Regions from separate parts of the Homo sapiens genome. Here regions 1, 2, 3 and 5 are each linked to region 4. Evidence: promoter capture Hi-C in 16 types of primary human blood cells and fetal thymus (Javierre and others, 2016). All regions are on one chromosome and are shown on one strand. The core of a region is centred on a gene start or on the middle of the fragment in contact, and the rest is flanking DNA. Distances in the headings are between cores, read along the strand shown. Region 1 has its middle 2.3 kb from the start of TRIDDENT. Region 2 overlaps ADCY9 (adenylate cyclase 9). Region 3 overlaps CREBBP (CREB binding lysine acetyltransferase). Region 4 holds the start of PAM16 (presequence translocase associated motor 16). Region 5 holds the start of SMIM22 (small integral membrane protein 22).

Evidence for each region. Contacts are between HindIII fragments. The CHiCAGO score rates a contact against its expected background, and 5 or more counts as called.
Region 1: a contact is called between a fragment that was not itself captured here and the fragment with the promoter of PAM16 in region 4, in 1 of 17 cell types (endothelial precursors). The highest score is 5.5, in endothelial precursors.
Region 2: a contact is called between a fragment that was not itself captured here and the fragment with the promoter of PAM16 in region 4, in 2 of 17 cell types (M2 macrophages and M1 macrophages). The highest score is 7.7, in M2 macrophages.
Region 3: a contact is called between a fragment that was not itself captured here and the fragment with the promoter of PAM16 in region 4, in 1 of 17 cell types (M1 macrophages). The highest score is 5.4, in M1 macrophages.
Region 5: the fragment with the promoter of SMIM22 here is called in contact with the fragment with the promoter of PAM16 in region 4 in 1 of 17 cell types (fetal thymus); the score reaches 6.5 in fetal thymus.

What each region holds. Positions count from the first base shown.
Region 1 is chr16:3,950,622-3,954,793 of GRCh38, reverse strand. It overlaps a transcript of ADCY9 not described here. Among named protein-coding and RNA genes, the nearest start is that of TRIDDENT, 2.3 kb to the right of the region's middle. The HindIII fragment of the contact is 695 bases long and covers 2,065-2,759 here.
Region 2 is chr16:3,967,604-3,972,149 of GRCh38, reverse strand. All of the region lies in intron 10 of ADCY9 (adenylate cyclase 9), which reads left to right. Among named protein-coding and RNA genes, the nearest start is that of TRIDDENT, 19 kb to the right of the region's middle. The HindIII fragment of the contact is 7,552 bases long and covers 1-4,546 here.
Region 3 is chr16:3,875,636-3,879,652 of GRCh38, reverse strand. All of the region lies in intron 1 of CREBBP (CREB binding lysine acetyltransferase), which reads left to right. Among named protein-coding and RNA genes, the nearest start is that of CREBBP, 3.1 kb to the left of the region's middle. The HindIII fragment of the contact is 1,369 bases long and covers 1,473-2,841 here.
Region 4 is chr16:4,348,762-4,352,872 of GRCh38, reverse strand. PAM16 (presequence translocase associated motor 16) reads left to right here and starts at 1,552. Exons shown (of 5, transcript NM_016069.11): 1 at 1,552-1,641. The coding sequence starts at 1,639. The region is part of intron 27 of CORO7-PAM16 (CORO7-PAM16 readthrough); the gene reads left to right. The HindIII fragment of the contact is 23,481 bases long and covers 1-4,111 here.
Region 5 is chr16:4,792,562-4,796,618 of GRCh38, reverse strand. It overlaps SMIM22 (small integral membrane protein 22), which reads right to left and starts at 1,250. Exons shown (of 4, transcript NM_001253794.2): 1 at 1,170-1,250; 2 at 761-904; 3 at 571-671; 4 at 128-429. The coding sequence starts at 884. The coding sequence ends at 388. The HindIII fragment of the contact is 14,181 bases long and covers 1-4,057 here.

The DNA.
Region 1 (4,172 bases), core at 1,163-3,662, 400 kb after region 4:
CTGTGTCCACAGTAATCATCGCTGTGGATGGCTCTGCCAAGAGCTCCCCTGTGTGGACTCCAGTGTTGCGGCTGCTCTGAGATGGCCTCTTCCTTCCCTTACTCCTGCAAAGCAGCAACCTCCCAGCATCAACGTGCGATGCTGGCCCTCAGCCGGCCCCCTTGGCTTCTTGGTGAACCTCGTGTTCCGTTTCTGACGCTTTTCCTGGTCTGGACCCTACTCACTGGCCCAGAGGGAGACACTCCTAGCCATTCCCTGTAAGCTGCCACTAAGTCCCGGAGGTCCCTTCTGGTTTCAGCACCAGGCAGCTGCCCGAGCTGCGAGCTGGGAGTTCTGGGCCTGATCCCGGCTCAGAAAGAGGAACTTCATCCATTCGCTCCTGGGCTGGCCCAGCAGCAGCACGCCAGGCTCTCAGACCAGTGTGGGGCCCAGAGAGCCCCACCCAATCCCACCAATTGGAATTAGGGGAGGGCAGGGACAGAGCAGAGGACAGGCTGGGAATGCCCAGAAGAGTGGATGTCGAAGCATCGTCGTTCACCAGGACCCAGTGTCTGCAAAGCTCAGCTCCCAGCCTGCCCCGGCCAGCTCAGCGACGCCCGTCCTGCAGCTCTGCATGTCAGAAGCCACTGGACGGGGTGCGTCAGTGGGGCCTCTGGGTACATCCTCCTCACCCTGCAGCATTAAACCAAAGTGCTAATGATAACACCCAGATGAGTGCCAAGTGGAAAAATCAGAGCCTTACCATCCTCTGTGAAATCCTGAGTCAGTTTCACGCTTTGTAGGCATTTTAGGATTCAGCCATCCGTGAGATGATCCAGTTATTCCAATCAAATTCCACCTTCTCAATCCATGCAGCAATCCTCACACCAAAAACCATTCTGGGAGGCGTAAGAGCTGTGACGCGGCTCTGACAGCGACCTCCCCGTGCTGATGGTCACTTTGTCCCCACAGGTTGCCAGAACCTGATGTTTTTGCTGTTCGTGGTGTTGGATGGCTGCAAAGGGGTGACGGCGGTTCAAGCAGGCTTCTGACTTGTCCGTCGTATCCCAAAACCGGCGTTTTTTCCACACACACTGGCTGAAGCTTCCTACCTGTGGGCTTGGGAGCTTGCTAGTCACAGAATAAGGAAATCCACAGGTGTTAAAGAATCCGTCCATTCCAAAAGCGTGGATGGTTTTTTTTTAATCATCATGTTTTCTAGAAATTGCTCGGTTTTTATTTCTTTCCTCCCCTCTAACCCTCTTCTTATCCGCATTTTCCCATCTTCTCTTTTCCAGAAGACGAGAACCCTGTGGAGAGGGAGACTCCAAGTTTCCCTTCAGTTCACAGGAAGAGAGTTGCCGTGCAGGAGCCTAATTGTAAATTTGAAAAAATTAAAAACTGCTTATGCTCTGTCAATTACCAAAACGAGGAAGGACTGTATCTGTGAAATACGTATATATTTTTTGAGATGGAGCCCCGCTCTGTCGCCCAGGCTGGAGTGTAGTGGCGCGATCTCGGCTCACTGCAACCTCTGCCTCCCAGGTTCAAGTGATTCTCCTGCCTCAGCCTCCCAAGTAGCTGGGACTATAGGCACAGGCCACCACGCCCAGCTAATTTTTGTATTTTTAGTAGAGATGGGATTTCGCCATGTTGGCCAGGCTGGTCTCGAACTCCTGACCTCAAGTGATCCGCCCACCTCAGCCTCCCAAAATGCTGGGATTACAGGCATGAACTGCTGTACCCGGCCTGGTTGTTGCATTTTAATGTACTGAGCCAAGCACCAGGCTCCAGGGACACTGCTACTAGGTGGCCTGTCCTTGGCTCTGATGCAGGCGCTTCCAGGAAGAATGGGCTGCAGCTCTGTGCAGCCTGCCTGTGCTGGGCCAATGTCAGCTCCCCTTGCTCGAACAGGATTGGCCAGAACACGCCCTGTGCCTGCGAGCAGCCTTGAATGCCACTGGGGATTTGAGGTTTAGGCGTCCCGTTCCTTGAGCAGGAACCTCTGCAGAAAGGCAATTAGAAGAACAAAGTGCCCTCTCCCTGACGGTCTGTCTCCCTCACACCAAAAAGGAAGGTGAAGCTTCCTTTTTAAGGAGACCCCTTTTTAAGAACCACGGGGTAGCTGTGGTGGTTCACGTCTATAATCCCAGTGCTTTAGGAGACCACAGTGGGAGGATCACTTGAGCCCAGGAGTTTGGAACCAGCCTTGGCAACAGGGGTTGGAGGCTGCAGTGAGCTATGATCATGCCACTGCACTCCACCCTGGGCAACATAGTGAGACCCCATCTCTACAAATGATATAAAAGGCACCTGGGGGTGGTGGTGCGTGCCTGTGGTCCCAGCTATTCAGAAGCCTGAGGCAGGAGGATCGCTTGAATCCAGGAGTTCAAAGCTGCAGTGAACTGTGATTGTGCCATTGCACTCCAGCCTGGGCACCAGAGCGAGACCCTGTCTCTTAAAAAAAAAGAAGAAGAAGAAACATGTATGAGATAGAGCGCTGCAAATCTGGTTCCAACTTTCTCTGTGATTTTGCTGGAATTTGTTCAACACTGAGCTCACAGACAGCAGTGAACCAAAACTTGTTTTCTTTGGACTGCTTTGAGCAAAAATAGAAGAAAGGGGCTCATTTTTTTCCAGTGATTTTTTATTTTTCATCAATAGTGCAGATCCAAAGTAAGTATTTATTCACTGGCCTGATTTCCCAATCTTTTAACTTAGAAGTATGATTGCCAGTTTCCTAGGTTTTTAAGAATACGCTGAAAACAAGCTGCCAAGCTTAGGAGCCGAGAACCATAGAAAGTTCTGTCCATGTGCTTGGATCAGATTTCCAGCACAAACTGTGATGTGTACATCGCTTAACTCGGAGTCTGACTTTTGTTAGCTGTTGTTGGATGAACAGGTGTGTGCAGCGGATGAGTAACATGATACAAAGAGAGGTTGTACTTCCGCTGGGAGGAGAATGGGCATTTGGGTTTTTGTTGTTGTTGTTGTTTAATTTCAGCCCAACTGTTTAGAAAGAAAATTCTTGCTGTCTTTACCACTTTGTGCTGCACAGGGAGGTGGGAAGGAGGATGTTAGACGTGCGTATTAACAAATGCTCTTATGGCTACATTTTTTGGTCCATGCAAAAAAAAAAAAAAAAAAGTTCGTCTTTTTTTTATCCAGTTATCAAACTTGTGTAAAAATAAGAAAGTATATCCTTAAATAGAATTGTGCCCTGGAAGGAACCCAGATGGCTCTCTTGAGATTAAAATAGTCATCCCAGCCGGGCACGGTGGCTCATGCCTGTAATCCCAGCACTTTGGGAAGCCAAGGCAGGAGGACTGCTTGAGGCCAGGAGTTTGAGACCAGCCTGGCCAACATGGTGAAACCCCCTCTTTACTAAAAATAACAAAAATTAGCTGGGAGTGGTGGTGGGTGCCTGTAATCCCAGTGACTCGGGAGGCTGAGGCAGGACAATCACTTGAACCCAAGAGGCGGAGGTTGCAGTGAGCCGAGATCACGCCATTGCACTCCAGCCTGGGCAACAAGAGCGCAACTCCGTCTCAAAAAAAAAAAAAAAAAAACTTAGGGACATCATTCTCAGTTTTTTTTAAAGGGTACTAGTTTTAGTTTTGATTTACCAATTTATGTTTCCGAGACGTTTTTTCAATGAAGTGAGTCACTTTTGAACTATTGTGAGGCACTCATTCTAATTTCATGGCTCTCAGTTTACAGGAACATAACATTTGATGCCAATGAAATTCATTAGAATTCTGCGCTATCCTGTGAACTGCGTGCCCATCTGTCTTGTATGTGTTTCCAGGGGTGGCTTACAATGGTCTTCGCCATGTACTGGATGGACGTGTACTTATTATGAATCCTCACACCCTGAGACCCAAGAGGATCCCTCGTAAAACAAGGCCATATCTGATTTGGATTAAAATCCCCACGGAGAACCTGATGTCACCCAGGAAAGTGCACGTCTCCTTGCGTGCTCTTGAGAAACGGTTGAGAAAACAGTCCTTCCAGCTCAGTAAATACCATTTTCTTTCTGTCTGCTCACCACCCTTGCATTTGCAATAAACCTGACAAAAACTTCCAGAGCGAAAATAAGAATGTTCATATTTGAAGGAGATGTTGGCAGACGGCCACAGACTTCAAGTACGCAAGCTCATTCCGCTCTTGCTTTTCTGCCAATAACTCCTTGG
Region 2 (4,546 bases), core at 79-2,578, 380 kb after region 4:
TTAAAATAGGAAACACACATTCTAGCTGGGAAGCTGTCCTCGTACCTGTTTCTTACAGATGCCTTCTGTTGCGAGGCAGCCCCCTTGGTTTCTGAGTGCACATGCTGTGTGTGATGGCTTTTCTTCCTTGGAAGCAAAGGTGGAAAGCAAACGCTGTGCTCTGCCTTCCTCTCCCTCTGGCACTAGCCCATGTGCTGCTGTCCCTCCTCTGCCTGGAGGGGCCTGGCCTGCGCCCGTCTCGAGTCAGCTGTGCTGCTGGCTCCGGCTCCCGCAGATTAGAGTGAGCTGTACAAGCGATAACTGATTGAGAAGCCCAGATACAGTCTCCCATTTCCACCACAGAGACTGGAAACACCCCCTGCACATAATGGGGATGTTAGACCTTGGTGACACCTGCTCCTAAAGGGGACTGTTCTTGGTGTCACCACTTTGAGAAACCAAAAGAAAGGTCAACTCCTAACCCAACGAGCGGGGCTCACAAAACCTTCCCCCAGTCCATATTCTCTTCCTGCTCTATTTACAATCAACCAGAGGGCTCATGGAGCTGGACAGAAATATGTTTGAGTCATCATCGTAACAAATGGTTATTTTGCTTAGTACTTGAGATGTAGGATATGTAATGTCATCTGTTTCAATAGCAGTTCACGAAATGAGTCAGTGAAGCACAGGGTGTCTTCCCACTGAGGACTCTTGGTTCCTGGTCATAGGCGTTGAGTCACAAAGCCCGTATCAGGGCTCCCAAGACCAGCCCCAGGTGGACTCAGGACTCCGCAATCTGCTCTCTCACCGCTGTGATTACAGCGAAAAGACATAAGGCAGAATCAGCAAAGGGAAGGGTGTGTGAGTTGACGTTTGGAGGAAGCCGGCACCAGCTTCCAAGAGTCCTCTCCCGGTAGAGTCACACGGGATGGGCTTAATTCCTCCAGCAGTGAGTGGTGACAACACTTGTAACATGCTGCCTACCAGGGAAGCTCATTAAAGTCTCGGTGTCCAGGCTTGTATTAGGGGCTGTTCAGGTCTCCCGCCTCTGCCCAGCACGTGCCTAAATTCCAGACTTCCAGCAGGAAAGCGGGTATTCAGCGTAAACCTCCTTATTTAGACAGTGTAGGCAGTGTGAGCCGCTCTTATCAAGGAATGGCAGGAACCCTCCCCAAATCCCAGCTCCCTGGTGCCAGCCACCACCTTTGCAGGCAGGTCTTTCCAAGGATGGCAGCCTCAGGCCTTTCCTGCACGGAACCTTAGGCTGGAAGGGACGTAGCCATGCTCCAGTCCATCTTCACAGCTTACAAGCGAGGAAACTGAGACCCAGAAAGATGGCATGGCTTACCCAAGATTCTGAAACTCCCCCGCGGTCCAGCCAGGATGGGGCCCAGGGGTTCTGTTCCACCCACGGCCAGGGCTTTTGGCGGTTGTGCTTCGCAGAGGGCCGTGATGGCCACACAGGTCAAGCTCATTGTTTTTTAATATCCCAAGAACAGTTAGTGAAACTTATTAGACACTTTGATTAAAGGACTGAGCTTTTGGCCGGGCATGGTGGCTCGTGCCTGTAATCCCAGCACTTTGGGAGGCCAAGGCGGGTGGATCACCTGAGGTCAGGAGTTCCAGACCAACCTGGTCAACATGGTGAAACCCTGTCTCTACTAAAAAATACAAAAATTAGCCAAGTATGGTGGCGCACACCTGTAGTCCCAGCTACTCGGGAGGCTGAGGCAAGAGAATCACTTGAACCTGGAAGCGGAGGTTGCAGTGAGCCAAGGTCGCGCCATTGCACTCCAGCCAGGGCAACAGAGCAAGAAAGAAAAAAGAAGAATTGAGTTTTGGCCAGGCGTGGTGGCTCATCCCTGTAATCCCAGCACTTGGGGAGGCTAAGGCAGGCAGATTGGTTGAGCTCAGGAGTTCAAGACCAGCCTGGGCAAGATGGCGAGACCCTGTCTCTAAAAGAAAAAGAATTGAGCTTTCCAGTGTGATGGAGCTGTCTAAACTGTGGATCCGCCAGTCGCATATATAAGTATATAGTGACCAAGCCCATTATTGCATCAAATCAACTGGCCTACTCTGTGCGCGGGAGGAATGCATCAGGGTACAGCATTTACATGAACAGAACAGTCACGGTGTTGTAAAAAAGAAAAAGACTAGAATGCAGTTCAACAAATGTTAATAGTGATTGCCTCTGGATGGCAGGACGATGGACAAATCTTTTTTGTCTATTTTTTTCTACATTTTCTATGATGAGTATGTAGTATTTTTAAATGGGAAAAAATGTATTCCAGCACACTGGGGAGGCAGAAGCAGAACAGTTTGAACCCAGGAGTTTGAGACCAGCCTGGGCAACATAGTAAGACCTCATCTCTACAAAAAGTTCAAAAAATTAGCCAGGTGTGGTGGTGTGTGCCTGTAGTCCCAGCTAATCTGGAGGCTGAGGCGGGAGGATCGCTTTAGCCTGGGAGGTCAAAGCTGCAGTGAGCTAGGATCGCACCACTGCAGTCCAGCTTGGATGACAGAGACAGACCCTGTCTCTTCTTAAAAAAAAAAAAAAATACATATATATATATATATATATATATATATATATATATATATTTCAAACAAACTTTAAGAAATTGTGCTACTCAGCCAGGTGTGGTGGCTCACACCTGTAATCCCAGCACTTTGGGAGGTCGAGGCGGGCAGATCACTTTAGGTCAGGAGTTTGAGACCAGCCCAGCCAACATGGTGAAACCCCGTTTCTACCAAAAAAAAAATACAAAAATTAGCTGGGCCTGGTGGCGCACACTACTCAGGAGGCTGGGCCGCAAGAATCGTTGAGCCCAGGAGGTGGAGGTTGCAGTGAGCTGAGATCACACCACTGCATGCCAGCCCGGGCTAGAGAGTGAGACTCTGTCTCAAAAAAGAAAAAAGAAAAAGAAAAAAAGAAATTGTGCTACTCACCACTCATCTGCAGCCCCCTGACCATGGCTGTCTCCATCAGTGCCACTGAAGTGGAGACAGCCCCGCTGAAAGCAGGCTCAGTTATCAAAGGGAGCAGAGACTGGGCGCGGTGGCTCACGCCTGTGATCCCAGCACTTTGGGAGGCCGAGGCGGGTGGATCACGAGGTCACGAGTTTGAGACCAACCTGTCTCTAGTAAAAGTACAAAAATAATCTGGGCATGGTGGCGTGCACCTGTAGTCCGAGCTACACAGAAGGCTGAAGCAGGAGAATTGCTTGAACCCAGGAGGCGGAGTTTGTGGTGAGGCGAGATCACGCCACTGCACTTTAACCTGGGCAACAAAGCGAGACTCCTTCTCAAAAAAAAGAAAAAAAAAAGCAGAAACTGGTTCAGCCTTGTTTAGAAGGGCAATTTGGAAATTTCTAAGGAAATTCTAAATGTGCAATATTTAAAATGACTCAGCACTTCCATACGCACAAAGATAGGGGTAGGGGAATATTCCCTGTGACACTGTTTGTGGTAAGAAAAGACAGACTCGGGCCCAGTTCCATCAGGGGGAATCTGGCTAAATTACAGAATTTCCGAGTGCTGGAACACTGCACAGCCATGAGAAAATAATGGCACTGGTTCAGATGTTAGCATTGTCCTGAGTGATTTCGGCAAAAAGAACTAACCCAGAATCAGGGGAGATGGCGTCTTGTCAAACTTTTTTATACAGGTAGAGAGTATAGAACTCATAAAAGCTATTTGTAAAATGATAAGTTTATTGGATTAGAAATCTAAGAACCAAGGCCAGGCGCGGTGGCTCACACCTGTAATCCCAGCACTTTGGGAGGCTGAGGTGGGCGGATCACCTGAGGTCGGGAGTTTGAGACAAGCCTGACCAACATGGAGAAACCCCGTCTCTACTAAAAATACAAAATTAGCTGGGTGTGGTGGCACATGTCTGTGAACCCAGCTACTGGGGAGGCTGAGGCAGGAGAATCACTTGAACCCGGGAGGCGGAGGTTGTAGTGAGCCAAGATCTCACCAGCAACAAGAGCAAAACTCCGTCTCAAAAAAAAAGAAATCTAAGAACCAAATATATCAGAGAATGTTAAATTTCTTGGGTATGATGATGATATTGTAGTTACATAGGGAAATATCCTTATTCTTAGGAGATACATGCTGAAATATTTAGAGCTGAAGTGCCATGTCAGCAACTTACTTTCAAAAAGTTCATTCAGCAAAAAGCCGGGTGCAGTGGCTCACACCTGTAATCCCAGCACTTTAAGGCAAGCTGATCACTTTGAGATCAGGAGTTTGAGACCAGCCTGGCCAACATGATGAAACCCTGTCTCTACTAAAAATACAAAAATTAGCCAGGCATGGTGGCACACACCTATAGTCCCAGCTATTCAGGAGGCTGAGGCAGGAGGATCACTTGAACTCAGGAAGCAGAGGGTGCAGTGAGCCAAGATCGCACCACTGCACTCTAGCCTGGGCAACAGAGCAAGACTCAATCTTAAAAAAAAAAAAAAAAAAAGATGTTAGGCCAAGCACAGTTCAAGCCTGTAATCCCAGCACTTTGGAAGGCCAAGGTGGGAGGATGGCTTGAAGTTACGAGTTTAAGACCAGC
Region 3 (4,017 bases), core at 908-3,407, 470 kb after region 4:
GCCCGAGTTGGTCAGCACACGCCCGGTGCACTCGGCCTCCCCGCACCCGATCAGCCCTCCTCGCGGGGACCCTAGTGGCACTCCAGGAGGGAAGAAGTAAAGTGCAGCGTGTGGGTTTGTTTGGTAATGTCCTACGCATCCATCCGCGGCCGTGTCCACACGCGTGGCCGTCCAGAGGAATGACAGCGGAGGGTACCTTTGATGCTTAGAGAAAGCAAGATCGCGGCCAAAGGTAGGGCAGTGTGTTTTCTGGATTGGCGACACATTGACCAGGCTGCATTCAGAGGACACTCACAGCAGCCGCCAGCTTGCGAGTTAGAACCGAAGTTTCTTGGAATGAGTGAGTTCCTTGGAAAGATGCTTAGTGCTTATTTTCAAAACTCCTTGTTTTGTGTGTGTGTGTGTGTGTGTGTGTGTGCGCGCGTGTGTGTTTTTAGTCAACTAGTCATTCCATTTTTCAAAACCCAAACTTCGTTAGCAAGATGTCATGAAAGTTGCTGTGGTGTGTTTCATTTCCATGTATAACTTCAAAAGAAAGTTAAACAGCAGGTTTAAGTTCATTTGGGCTGCAATCTCCATTTGAGTTTGTGTTGCTTTCACAGTGTAGATGTACAAAGAATTAAGGAATGTAGGAATTCCAATTTTTCAAAAAAATGGAGCAGGATACTGAATAAATCATCTTTTTGTTTGTTTCCTTTCATTAAACGGCTTCCCTGGAAACTTTCTTAAGTTATCATAGCTGCTTAAGAGAAGTATTTAGTTTTCTATTAATTCAGTAATTCTGGGTCCCACTGCGCTGGTTCATGGTAACATGAACTAGTTGTATTTCCTCTTTTAGAGCTCTCTCCTTTGCCGCAAAAACTTGTGTGCCGCTGCGAACAATTCCATCTCCAGCGCAGCTTGCATTTCTCCAGTAGTCTTGCAGTGGTAGCATCTGAAAATCAGTTTCTAATGAATGAGTCCAAATTGAATTACATCGCTGCCTTCAGATTTGCACTAGACACAGCTGTTCAACTTGTGGAAATAGTTCTGTGACCGACCACTAGCATATTAAAAAAAACTGCTATTGCTGTTGAAACAAAACCTGAATTTTGTGGCTTAAGTTTGAATACAATTCCTGGAATCAAGTTATGATAAGCGACGTTTAATATTAATGTAGAAGTGAAAAGCGATTTTTAAAGATCAATCATAAGGAGATTCTTATCTAGTTAAAATTTGTTAAACAGTGGGGAGGAGTAAATGATGCTCATGGTATATAAAAATCACTAATGCTTTTCTTTTTAGCTGATAAAAGTTGAGTTTGACGTTAATCTTATAAAATGAACTTATTGAAGTGAGAAATTTGGAAACAGTAGTTTAAATGCCGTTGTACTGCAAAACAGATCTCCGTTGCTTCATTAATCTTGCTGTGTTTGAGTAGTCTTCAGTTCTGTGAGACGTAGGTCATACGTGGCGAGTTCAGCTTTGAAGCTTGTCTTCTGAAACTGGTAACCTGGATGGCTTTGTAGCTTTGCTGTTGTTGAATGAATTTGTTGTAGATTTTGTCTTAAAAAGGGGGACAATTAGTAACACAAGACTTAACAAAAAGGCATGTCCTTATATGTACATCCAGCTGTTTCCAAGATGGAGCCCAAAGGTTAGCTTTTTCCATAGTAGTGTCCATTATTGGATGATCAGATGCTTAATAAGTTGATCAGAAAGGATTTTCCACACTTAACCACCTTTTCCCCCTTCCTTTACAATTTTGATCCTTGTAAGGCACAGGGGCTCTTTCGTGGGACCAAAAGTCAGCTTTAAATGGCTCCGATTTAATCCAAAGTAGAAAGTCAACATCATACTTAAGTTGGGTCATGTGTTACACATTCATCACCATCACACTATTGTGAAAGGGTCTGTTAGTATGGGGGACCAAGGAAGGGCTCATTATCAAGCACATTAAACAAGGGGCTGCTGGGCGCCATGGCTCATGCCTGTAATCCCAGCACTTTGGGAGGCGGAGGCTGGTGGATCAACTTCAGGTCAGGAGTTCAAGACCAGCCTGGCCAACATGGGGAAACCCCATCTGTACTCAAAATACAAAAACATAGCCAGGCATGGTGACATGCACCTGTAATTCCAGCTACTTGAGAGGCTGAGGCATGACAATTGCTTGAACTCGGGAGGCAGAGGTTGCAGTGAGCCAAGATCGCGCCACTGCACTCCAGCCTGGGTAATGGAGTGAGACGCTGTCTCCAAAAGAAACGAGGGACACTTTGTCTGTTGTAACTGCTCCACTAAGAAATTGAGTAATGAGATGGACAGAGATCTTAGGGATGTATTTTAAACAAATAAATGGCTTGAGTTTTTACATTAAATACATTCAAAAACTGAAGGCATTTGGTTAGGTGGGACAGACCTGAGAATAACATTCTTGAGGAACTCAATCTTATTTTAGTGACGGGATGTGTCTCTGAGGCTCCCAGGGGAAAATTGGGCCTAGTGGAGCAGGGTGTGTGCCCGGTGCATGTGATCAAATTTGAGGGAGGGGACCTCTGTCTAGGAGCTGAGGGGTTGAAAGGAGGAGGAGCCCTTGGCAGCCTGAGAAACAGGATCTACTTGGACTGCAGTGCATGTCTGTAGAGACTGGCCTGTGGGGCCACCAGTGTCACTTAGATGTGTCTGTGAAGGGTGGCAGTGAGCTGAGAGAAAAATGCACCCGACATTGGGGAGCTGCTCAGCCAGGGTGCTGCTCATCTGGGGGCATGGATGTTGCAAACAGCACTCCCGAAGGTCATGCAGCACCTCAGAGTGATGAATGTCACTGCCACTGATGACAAACAAGTTGCCGAAGCCTGGGAAGCTTATGCAGAGATGATGCAGAAATACGGAATGTGCTGCGAATGAGGGTAGCAAGAGAGAAACGGTACCTTTCACCCCACTGAAGCAGCAGCCCTGGAGAGGCACAGAATTTGATGGCCTCAGATGTTAAAGTAGCATTTTCTTGTATTATGTAGAAGCCTTTACACTTTCTCATACATGAGGTCTTCCTTTACTTGGCACCCTTACAATAAGTGGGGACTTTATATTACCGGTATATAGTTAGTTGGGTGTTTTGGAAACTTCTTTATTTAATATGTCCAAGTTAAAATAGCATATTGTGTCTTTCAACATCAGAGATTCATGATTTAACAGTATAAGACAAATATCCAGGCAAGCAGTAGACTTTTGTTTTTTGTTTTCTGGGTTGTTTTTTTTTTTTTTTTTTTTTTTTTTTGGTCAGCTTTATTGCAAAATTTGCACACAACAGACTGTTTATAAAGTTTTTTGAAATTGCAGGCCAGGGTGGTGGCTCATGCCTATAATCCCAGTGCTTAGGGAGACTGAGACAGGAGGATTGCTTGAGGCCAGCAGTTGGAGACCAGCCTGGACAACATAGTGAGACCCCATCTAAACAAAAAATTTTTTTAATTAGTTGGGTGTAATAGTACAATCCTGTAATCCCAGCTATTCAGGAGGCTGTGGCAGGAGGATCGCTTGAGCCCAGGAGGTCGAGGCTGCAGTGAGCTGTGATCATGCCACTGCACTCTGGCCTGGGTGACAGAGTGAGACCCTGTCTCTGGGGGAAAAAGGAAAAGAAAAACTACATTCTGAAGATTGAACATAGCTGTGTTTCATCCTGTGCTGTATAAGTGGCTCTAAGCAGTTGTGATTACATTTTATGACGTGAATCCTTTTAAATGCAATAGGGAAGCTTATTTAAAGAAAGCTGGTGGCGAATATGGTTGTCAACCAAATGGTCTGTTATGTATGTCTGGTACTTTATGTATCAGAGTGCTTTTCTCCACGTCACCTCAGTTTGATCCTTACAGCGTCCTGTGAGGAAGGGAAGATGCTGTTACTGCTATTTTCTAGGTGAGGAACTGGACTTGAGAGGTGATACAGGGTCAAAACCAGATCCAAACTAGATTGTTAAAGTCCGTAGCTCTATATATTTATTTTCTAAGTCTCTATCTGTAAACAATGCATTTACTTGAATCG
Region 4 (4,111 bases), core at 303-2,802:
CACTGCTCTCCAGCCTGGGTGACAGAGCAAGACTTCATCTCAAAAAAAAAAAAAAAAGGAAAAATAATTTAAAAATAAAAAACCGGTTGGGCACAGTGTCACATGCCTATAATCCCAGCACTTTGGGAGGCTGTGGCGGGTGGATCATTTGAGACCAGTAGTTCAAGACCAGCCTGGCCAACATGGTGAAACCCTGTCTCTACTAAAAATTCAAAAATTAATGGGGCATGGTGGTCCATGCCTGTAATCCCAGCTACTCAGGAGGCTAAAGCATGAGCATCGCCTGAACCTGGGAGGTGGAGGTTGCAGTGAGGCAGGATTGTGCCACTGGACTCCAGCCTGGGCGACAGGGTGAGACCCTGTCTCAAAATGATAAATAAAATAAATAAGTAAATTATGTGGTATGGTAGAGGGTGATCAGAGTCTTGGAAGAAAAATAGAGACAAGAAGGGAGGATAAGCCAGTCACAAAAGGCTGCACATTGTATGATTCAATTTCTTCTTTTTTTTCATTTTTCATTTTTACCTTTTTTTTTTTTTTTTTTTTTTTTGAGGCAGGGCCTGACTCTGTCACCCAGGCTGGAGTGCAGTGATCACAGCTCACTGCAGCCTGTACCTCCCGGGCTCAAGAGATCCACCACTCAGCCTCCCAAGTAGCTGGGATTACAGGCACCTGCCACCACACCCGGCTAATTTTTGTATTTGTAGAGATGGGGTTTCACCATGTTGCCCAGCCTGGCCTTGAGTTCCTGACCTCAAGCGATCCACCTCGGCCTCCCAAAGTTTTGAGATTGCAGGCATGAGCCACCACGCCTGGCTTGTATGATTCCATTTCTATGAAATGTCCGGAACCTGTGAATCCATAGAGAGAAAAATGAGTGGTTGACAGGGGCTGGGGGAGGGGGCTGGGGAGTGACTAATGGGTGATGAAAACGTTCTGGAACTAATAGTGGTGACAGTGGCACAGCTCTGTGAATAAAAGGCATTGGACTGTGCACTTGAAAATCATGAAATCTACAGTGTATGGATTATATCTCAATAAAGCTGTTACTTTTTTCATTCATGGAGGGCAAGTCACGGCGTTTTAAGGGGTCCAGGTGGGCCTCATTGAGGTGACATTTGAGCAAAGATTTGAAGAAGGGAACGAGCTTCTCAGGCAGGAGGAATGTGGATGAAACCTATTTTGAAGTTTTCTATTTTCTAAAGTATTTTTGAGAATTTAGCATCCTACTCCATATTATGTTCATTGATTTCATATAATGTTGCATTCCCAAATATTTTGGCAAAATCAAGGGCAGAAATCGCCCCACGTCTGACCGATGTGCTTAGCTGCTCCAGCGCACTGGGGTAAGCACGCGGGCAATTGAGACTCCCGGTAACGCCCCTTGCCCTCCCAAGCCCGCCCCCAGTTATCCAGAGCCCGACGCAGGCTCAGTCAAACCCCGCCTCCGACCCCGCCCCGAGCCGCTAAGACGCTCCCGGTGGCCCGCCCTTAGACTGAGGCAATGCGCATGCCCAGCGCCGTATCGCGCACGCGCTCTCTGCGGCTTTCCTTGACCTCTGACCCGCCGACCACGCTTGATCCCCGGCCGCGGGGCCAGGAAGTCGGAGTTTGAGCCCCGGAGGCAGAGCGGCTGCCATGGTGAGCCCCGAGTCGGGCGCTACCGGGGAGGGGAAGCCGAGTCGGGCCGGGGGCCGGGGGCCGGGCGGCGAGCTCCGGGCTGGGCGGCGGGCGCCGTGCGCCCCCTGCGTGCCCGGCGGGAAGCATGGTCTGGGGGCGTTGCACCCGGGGGAATCGAGGCCGGCAGCGGCGGCACCGGCGGCCTCAGGGCCAGGGAAAACCGTCTGCCTGGAAGAGGCCGGGCAAACGTGGTCGCGCTGTGCCTAGCCCGCGTGTGAGCGAGCAGCCGTGGGCAGCGGTGGAGCATGAGTCTGGCTGGTGAGCGCCTCCCCTGCCCTGGAACCTTACAGCGCTGCAGAGTCGATGTTGCTGCCCTGTTGTTATCCCCAGTGGAAAGCTGGCCTTTCCAGGGAAGTGGCTGACCTGGGACTTGAACTAGGCCCCGAGACACCGAGCACGGAGCGTTTGTGTGATATCGTTGGCACGTAGAGCCAGTCAACAGACCTGCGCCACACTGTCAGGTCACCTAGGGTAGCTTTAAAAGTGCAGGTTTGGCTGGGCGCGGTGGCTCACGCCTGTAATCCCAGCACTCTGGGAGGCCGAGGCGGCGGATCACGAGGTCAGGAGTTCGAGACCAGCCTGGCCAACATGATGAAACCCGGTCTCCACCAAAAAATTTAAAAAATTAGCCGGGTGGGGTGGTGCGCGCCTGTAGTCCAAGCTACCCGGGAGGCTGAGGCAGGACAGACGCTTGAACCCGCGAGACAGAGGTTGCAATGAGCCGAGATCCGCCAGTGCACTCTAGCCTGGGCGACAGGGTGAGACTGCGTCTCAAAAAAAAAATTATATATATGTATTATATATACCGTATACATTTATGTATACTACATATTATTATGTTATATATATTTTTATATATCATGTATTTTATATATATATATACACACACACACACATAATATATACATATGTTAGCCAGGCATGGTGGCACACACCTGTAATCCCAGCTGCTTGGGAAGTTGAGGCGCCAGTATCGCTTGAACCCAGGAGGCAGAGGCTGCAGTGAACCAAGATTGTGCCACTGCACTCCAGTCTGGGCGACAGGGCAAAACTCTCTCAAAAAGAAAAAGAGGGGGAAAAAAAAAGTTCAGGTTCTTGAGCTCTATCCCTGGAGGTTCTGCACACGTAAGTTCCCCAAGTGACTCTGTTGCAGCTGGTTCGGGGAGCCACTTCTTAACTAACATAGTAATAAGGATAATGTAACAGCTAACGGCGTACAAGTGCCAGCCCCTGAGCTAAGGCTTTATGTAGAGTCTCTCATTTAGTGTTTATGAAGTCCTGCTGTCATTGTCCTTATTTTACAGATAAGGAACCTGAGCCCCAGACAGTTTTGACTCCACCATAGTCATGCATCCCATGGTGTCAGAGACCTCTTTTGAGCCCAGCTCTGTCCCAAAACTCATGGGGTTTTTTTGGTTTGTTTTTTGAGATAGGATGTCTGTCTGTCGCCCCGGCTAGGATGCAGTGGAGCGATCCTAGCTCACTGCAGCCTTGAACTCCTAGGCTCAAGCCATCCTCCTACCTTAGACCCCCAAGTAGTTGGGCCTACAGGTGAGTGCCAGCACACCTGGCTAATTTTTAAATTTTATGTAGAGGTGGGGTCTTGCTGTGTTGCCCCAGATGGGTCTCCTAGGCTGGAGTACAGTGGTACGATCACAGCTCACTGCAGCCTCAACCTCCTGGGGCTTAGGTGATCCTCCCATTTCATCCTCCCCAGTAGCCTCAGCCTCCCGGGTAGTTGGGACAACAGGCATGCTCCACTATGCCCAGCTAATTTTTTGTATTTTTTGTAGAGATGCAGTTTCGCCATGTTGCCAGGCTGGTCTCAAACTTCTGGGCCCAAGCAGTCCTCCTGCCTCGGACTCCCAAAGTGCTGGGATTATAGGCGTGAGCCACCGCACCCAGCATGACAGTATATTAACAGGAAAAGAAAGTGCTGGCCGGGCACGGTGGCTCACACCTGTAATCCCAGCACTTTGGGGGTCTCAGGCGGGTGGATCACGAGGTCAGGAGATCAAGACCATCCTGGCTAACATGGTGAAACCCCGTCTCTACTAAAAATACAAAAAATTAGCCGGGTGTGGTGGCAGGCACCTGTAGTCCCAGCTACTCAGGAGGCTGAGGCAGGAGAATGGCTTGAACCCGGGAGGCCGAGCTTGCAGTGAGCCGAAGGTCGCGCTACTGCACTCCGGCCTGGGTGACAGAGCAAGACTCCGTCTCAAAAAAAAAAAAAAAAAAAGAAAGTGCTAGGCCGGGTACGGTGGCTCACGCCTGTAATCCCAGCACTTTGGGTGGATTACCTGAGCTCAGGGGTTCGAGACCAGCCTGGGCAACACGGTGAAACCCTCTCTGTACTAAAAATACAAAAAATTAGCCGGGCATGGCAGCGTGTGCCTGTAGTCCCAGCTACTCAGGAGGCTGAGGCAGAAGA
Region 5 (4,057 bases), core at 1-2,500, 440 kb before region 4:
CAGCCTCCCGAGTAGCTGGGACTACAGGTGCCCGCCACCACGCCCGGCTAATTTTTTGTATTTTTAGTAGAGACGGGGATTCACCACGTTAACCAGGATGTTCTCGATCTCCTGACCTCGTGATCCGCCCACCTCGGCCTCCCAAAGTGCTGGGATTATAGGTGTGAGCCACCGCGCCCGGCCTGAGACCAGCTCCCCTCCCAGCTAGGTGACTGAGGATGACCTGGCACAGTCGTGCTGACTGAAGGCTTGGAGAGGCCAGGTGGCCACCTGAGTGGGGCGGCGAGTCCCGCGTCACCCACCCAGACGGGGACTGGAAGACACTGCAGACTCAGGCTCTGGGCAGACAGAAGGCTTTGTTACTGCCACCGGGCAGGAGACACAGGGTCAGGGTTCCAGGGCCAAGTTATCCACTCCCTTGGGTCTTTCCTGCACGAGAAGCACAGCGGGACCAAGCAGGTTCGCTCGTTGTTCCCTAGGGGGATGAGCACCCTTCCCGCCACTCCCCTCACCTTCCGCCTCCACCCCCAGTACAGTTCCGTGCAGGTCCCAGAGGCCGGCAGGGCTCACCTTCCAGGGGCTCACCTTCCTGGGGCTTTCCCTGCGGGGCCCGGGGGAGCTGCAGCAGCAGCAGTGGGCGACGACCAGCAGCAGCAGGAGCAGCACGGTGCCTGGGGACAGGACAGGCGTCCAGGTGTGGCCCCAACCTGGAGCCCAGGGCAGGGGGCTGGGAGGACCCAGAGGCCACAGCCACACTTACCCATGAAGGTGAGGAAAACAATGAAGGCAACAGTGTCCCATGTGGACTGGAAAAACTGGTGGCTCTTCAGTCTCCCCAGGACTTCCTGAACCGTGGCCTCCAGCTCCTCTGTGGACACAGCCATCTTGGCGTGCACCGTGCCACCTGCCCCGGTCCCCCAGAGGCTGCATCAGGATCCTGGGCTCAGCTCAGCGGGGACCACATCCAGGCTTCCCACAGCCCAGCCACTGCCCGCTCCTGGCCCAGCGCCAGCTTCCCCACCCCCTCCCACTCCACTTCTCCCTCGGCCCCAGGCCCAGCTTCTCTCCTTGCCCAGCCCTGTGGTCCTTACCCTGACAACCTTCTCCCCAGCCACTGTCATCTCCCCTCTCTCTCCCCCTGGCAGCCCAGCCCCCAGGCCCCCACCTACCTCCTAGAAGCCTCCAATTCCCCCAACCAGGCAGGTCCTGGGGAGCACAGGCTGCTTCCTGCTTCCGGCTCCACACCACCTGAGGCCTTGGCAACCAGCCCCGCCCTCCCCAGGGCCAGCAGAGGCCGCCCAGCCCAGGGGAGAGGGCCCAGGCCCAGCAGGTGCGCTCCCTGGCTCCCCACTGCTGGAGGCCCAGGGAGGAAGACGCCGGCCTGTGGCTTCTTCACTCCTGAGACTTCTTACCTTTCCTCAGTATCCCAGATATGCAGCTGGGAACACCTGTGTGCTTGGCCACTGCTGACTTCGTGAATGAAAGAGAGAGAGATGGGAGAGAAGGTGGGTGGGAGGGAGGGGGAAGGGGGAGAAAACCTACCTGCATCCCACGACCCTTGAGCAGCTAGGACAGGTGTGCCTGCATCATAGAGTTGTCCTTGGAATCCTCAACGATTGGTTCCAGCACCTCCGTGGGTACCAAAATCCACAGATGCTATAAACTCCCTGATATAAAATGAGGCAGTATTTGCATATAACCTGTGCATATACTCTATACTTTAAATCATCTCTGGATTACTTATAATACTTAATATATTTGGCCTGGCCTGGTGGCTCACACCTGTAATCCCACCACTTTGGAAGGCCAAGTTGGGCAGATCACTTACTTAGATCAGGAGCTTGAGACCGTCCTGGCCAACATGGCGAAACCCCACCTCTACTAAAAATACAAAAATTGGGCCGGGCGCAGTGGCTCACGCCTGTAATCCCAGCACTTTGGGAGGCAGAGGCGGGTCAGCTGAGGCCAGAAGTTTGAGACCAGCCTGACTGACCAACGTGGAGAAACCATGTCTCTACTAAAAATACAAAATTAGCCAGGCGTGGTGGCACATTCCTGTAATCCCAGCTACTAGGGAGGCTGAGGCAGGAGAATCACTTGAACCCGGGAGGCAGAGGTTGTGGTGAGCCGAGATCACGCCATTGCACTCCAGCCTGGGCAACAAGAGCAAAACTCCATCTCAAAAAAAAAAAAAGATAAAAATACAAAAATTGGTCGGGTGTGGTGGCTCATGCCTGTAATCCCAGCACTTTGGGAGGCCGAGGCAGGCGGATCACAAGGTCAGGAGATCAAGACCATCCTGGGTAACACGGTAAAACCCCATCTCTACTAAAAATACAAAAAATTAGCCGGCCATGGTGGCACGCGCCTATAGTCCCAACTACTCAGGAGGCTGAGGCAGGAGAATTGCTTGAACCCTGGAGGCAGAGATTGCAGTGAGCCGAGATCTCGCCACTGCACTCCAGCCTGGGTGACAGAGCAAGACTCCATCTCAAAAAATAATAATAATACAAAAATTACCCCGCTGTGGTGGCGGGCACCTGTAATCCCAGCTACTTGGGAGGCTGAGGCAGGAGAATCGCTTGAACCCAGGAGGCGGAGCCTGTAGTGAGCCAAGATCATGTCACCGCACACCCGCCTGGGTGACAGAGCAAGACTATCTCAAAAAAAATAAATTGGCTGGGTGCGGTGGCATACTCCTGTAATCCCAGCTAATCGGGAGGCCAAGGCAGGAGAATCGCTTGAACCCAGGAGGCAGAGGCTGCAGTGAGCCAAGATGGCACCACTGCACTCTAGCGTGGGTGACAGAGCAAGACTCCATCTCAAGAAAAAATTGTATACATATATTTATTTAATATAATGTATGCTAGGTAAATAATTGTTACATTGTATAGGGAACAGTAAGCAAAAAAGTCTGTACATGTCCAATAGAGATGTGATTTGTTTCCAAATATTTTCTGTCTGTGGTTGGCTGAAGCCACAGATGTGGAACCTGTGGATACGGAAGGCCAGCTGTACTAGGACTCTTCACTGTCCTTATTTTCTCTATTTTACTACTTGAAAATATCAGCTAATGTGGGGCTCTGCATCGAGCACTGTGCTGTGTCACCTGGTTTATTCCTCATAGCAATCCTAAAGTGGGTATTATTGCTTTTTCCATTTTACAGATGAGGAAACGGAGGCCTAGAGAAGTTTAGCCATTAGCCCGTCACACACCTAATGTATCCATGTCCCAATGCTGCCGTAACACTACCACAAACTCTGTGGCTTCAAACAACACAAATGTATTGCCCTATGGTTCTGAAGGTCAGAGTCTAAAATGGGTCGACCAGGCTGTGTTCATCCTGAAGGTTCTAGGGCAGAGTCCATCTTTTGCCTTGTCCAGCTTCTAGAGGGTGGTGGCATTCCTGGGCTTGTGGTCTCCCATCCCTCCACCCTCTGCTTCCAGGCTCACGTCTCCTCCTCTGACTCTAATCCTCCTCCCTCCCTTTTTTTTTTTTTTTTTTTTTGAGACAGAGTTTCGCTCTTTTTGCTGAGGCTAGAGTGCAGTGGCGCCATCTCGGCTCACTGCAATCTCCGCCTCCCGGGTTCGAGCGATTCTCCTGCCTCAGCCTCCTGAGTAGCTGGGATTACAGGCACCTGCCACCACGCCCAGCTAACTTTTGTATTTTAGTAGAGACTGGGTTTCACCATGTTGGCCAGGCTGGTCTCAAACTCCTGACCTCAGGTGATTCACCCACCTTGGCCTCCCAAAGTGCTAGGATTACAGGTGTGAGCCACGATGCTTGGCCTTTTTTTTTTTTTTTTTTTTGAGACGGAGTCTTGCTGTCACCCAGGCTGGCAGGCTGGAGTGCAATGGCACGATGTCGGCTCACTGCAACCTCCGCTTCCTGGGTTCAAGAGATTCTCCTGCCTCGGCCTCCCGAATCACTGGGATTTCAAGCGTGCACCACCACACCCAGCTGATTTTTGTGTTTTCAGTAGAGACGGGGTTTCACCATGTTGGTCAGGCTGGTCTTGAACTCCTGAGCTCTAGCAATCCGCCCCCCTCAGCCTC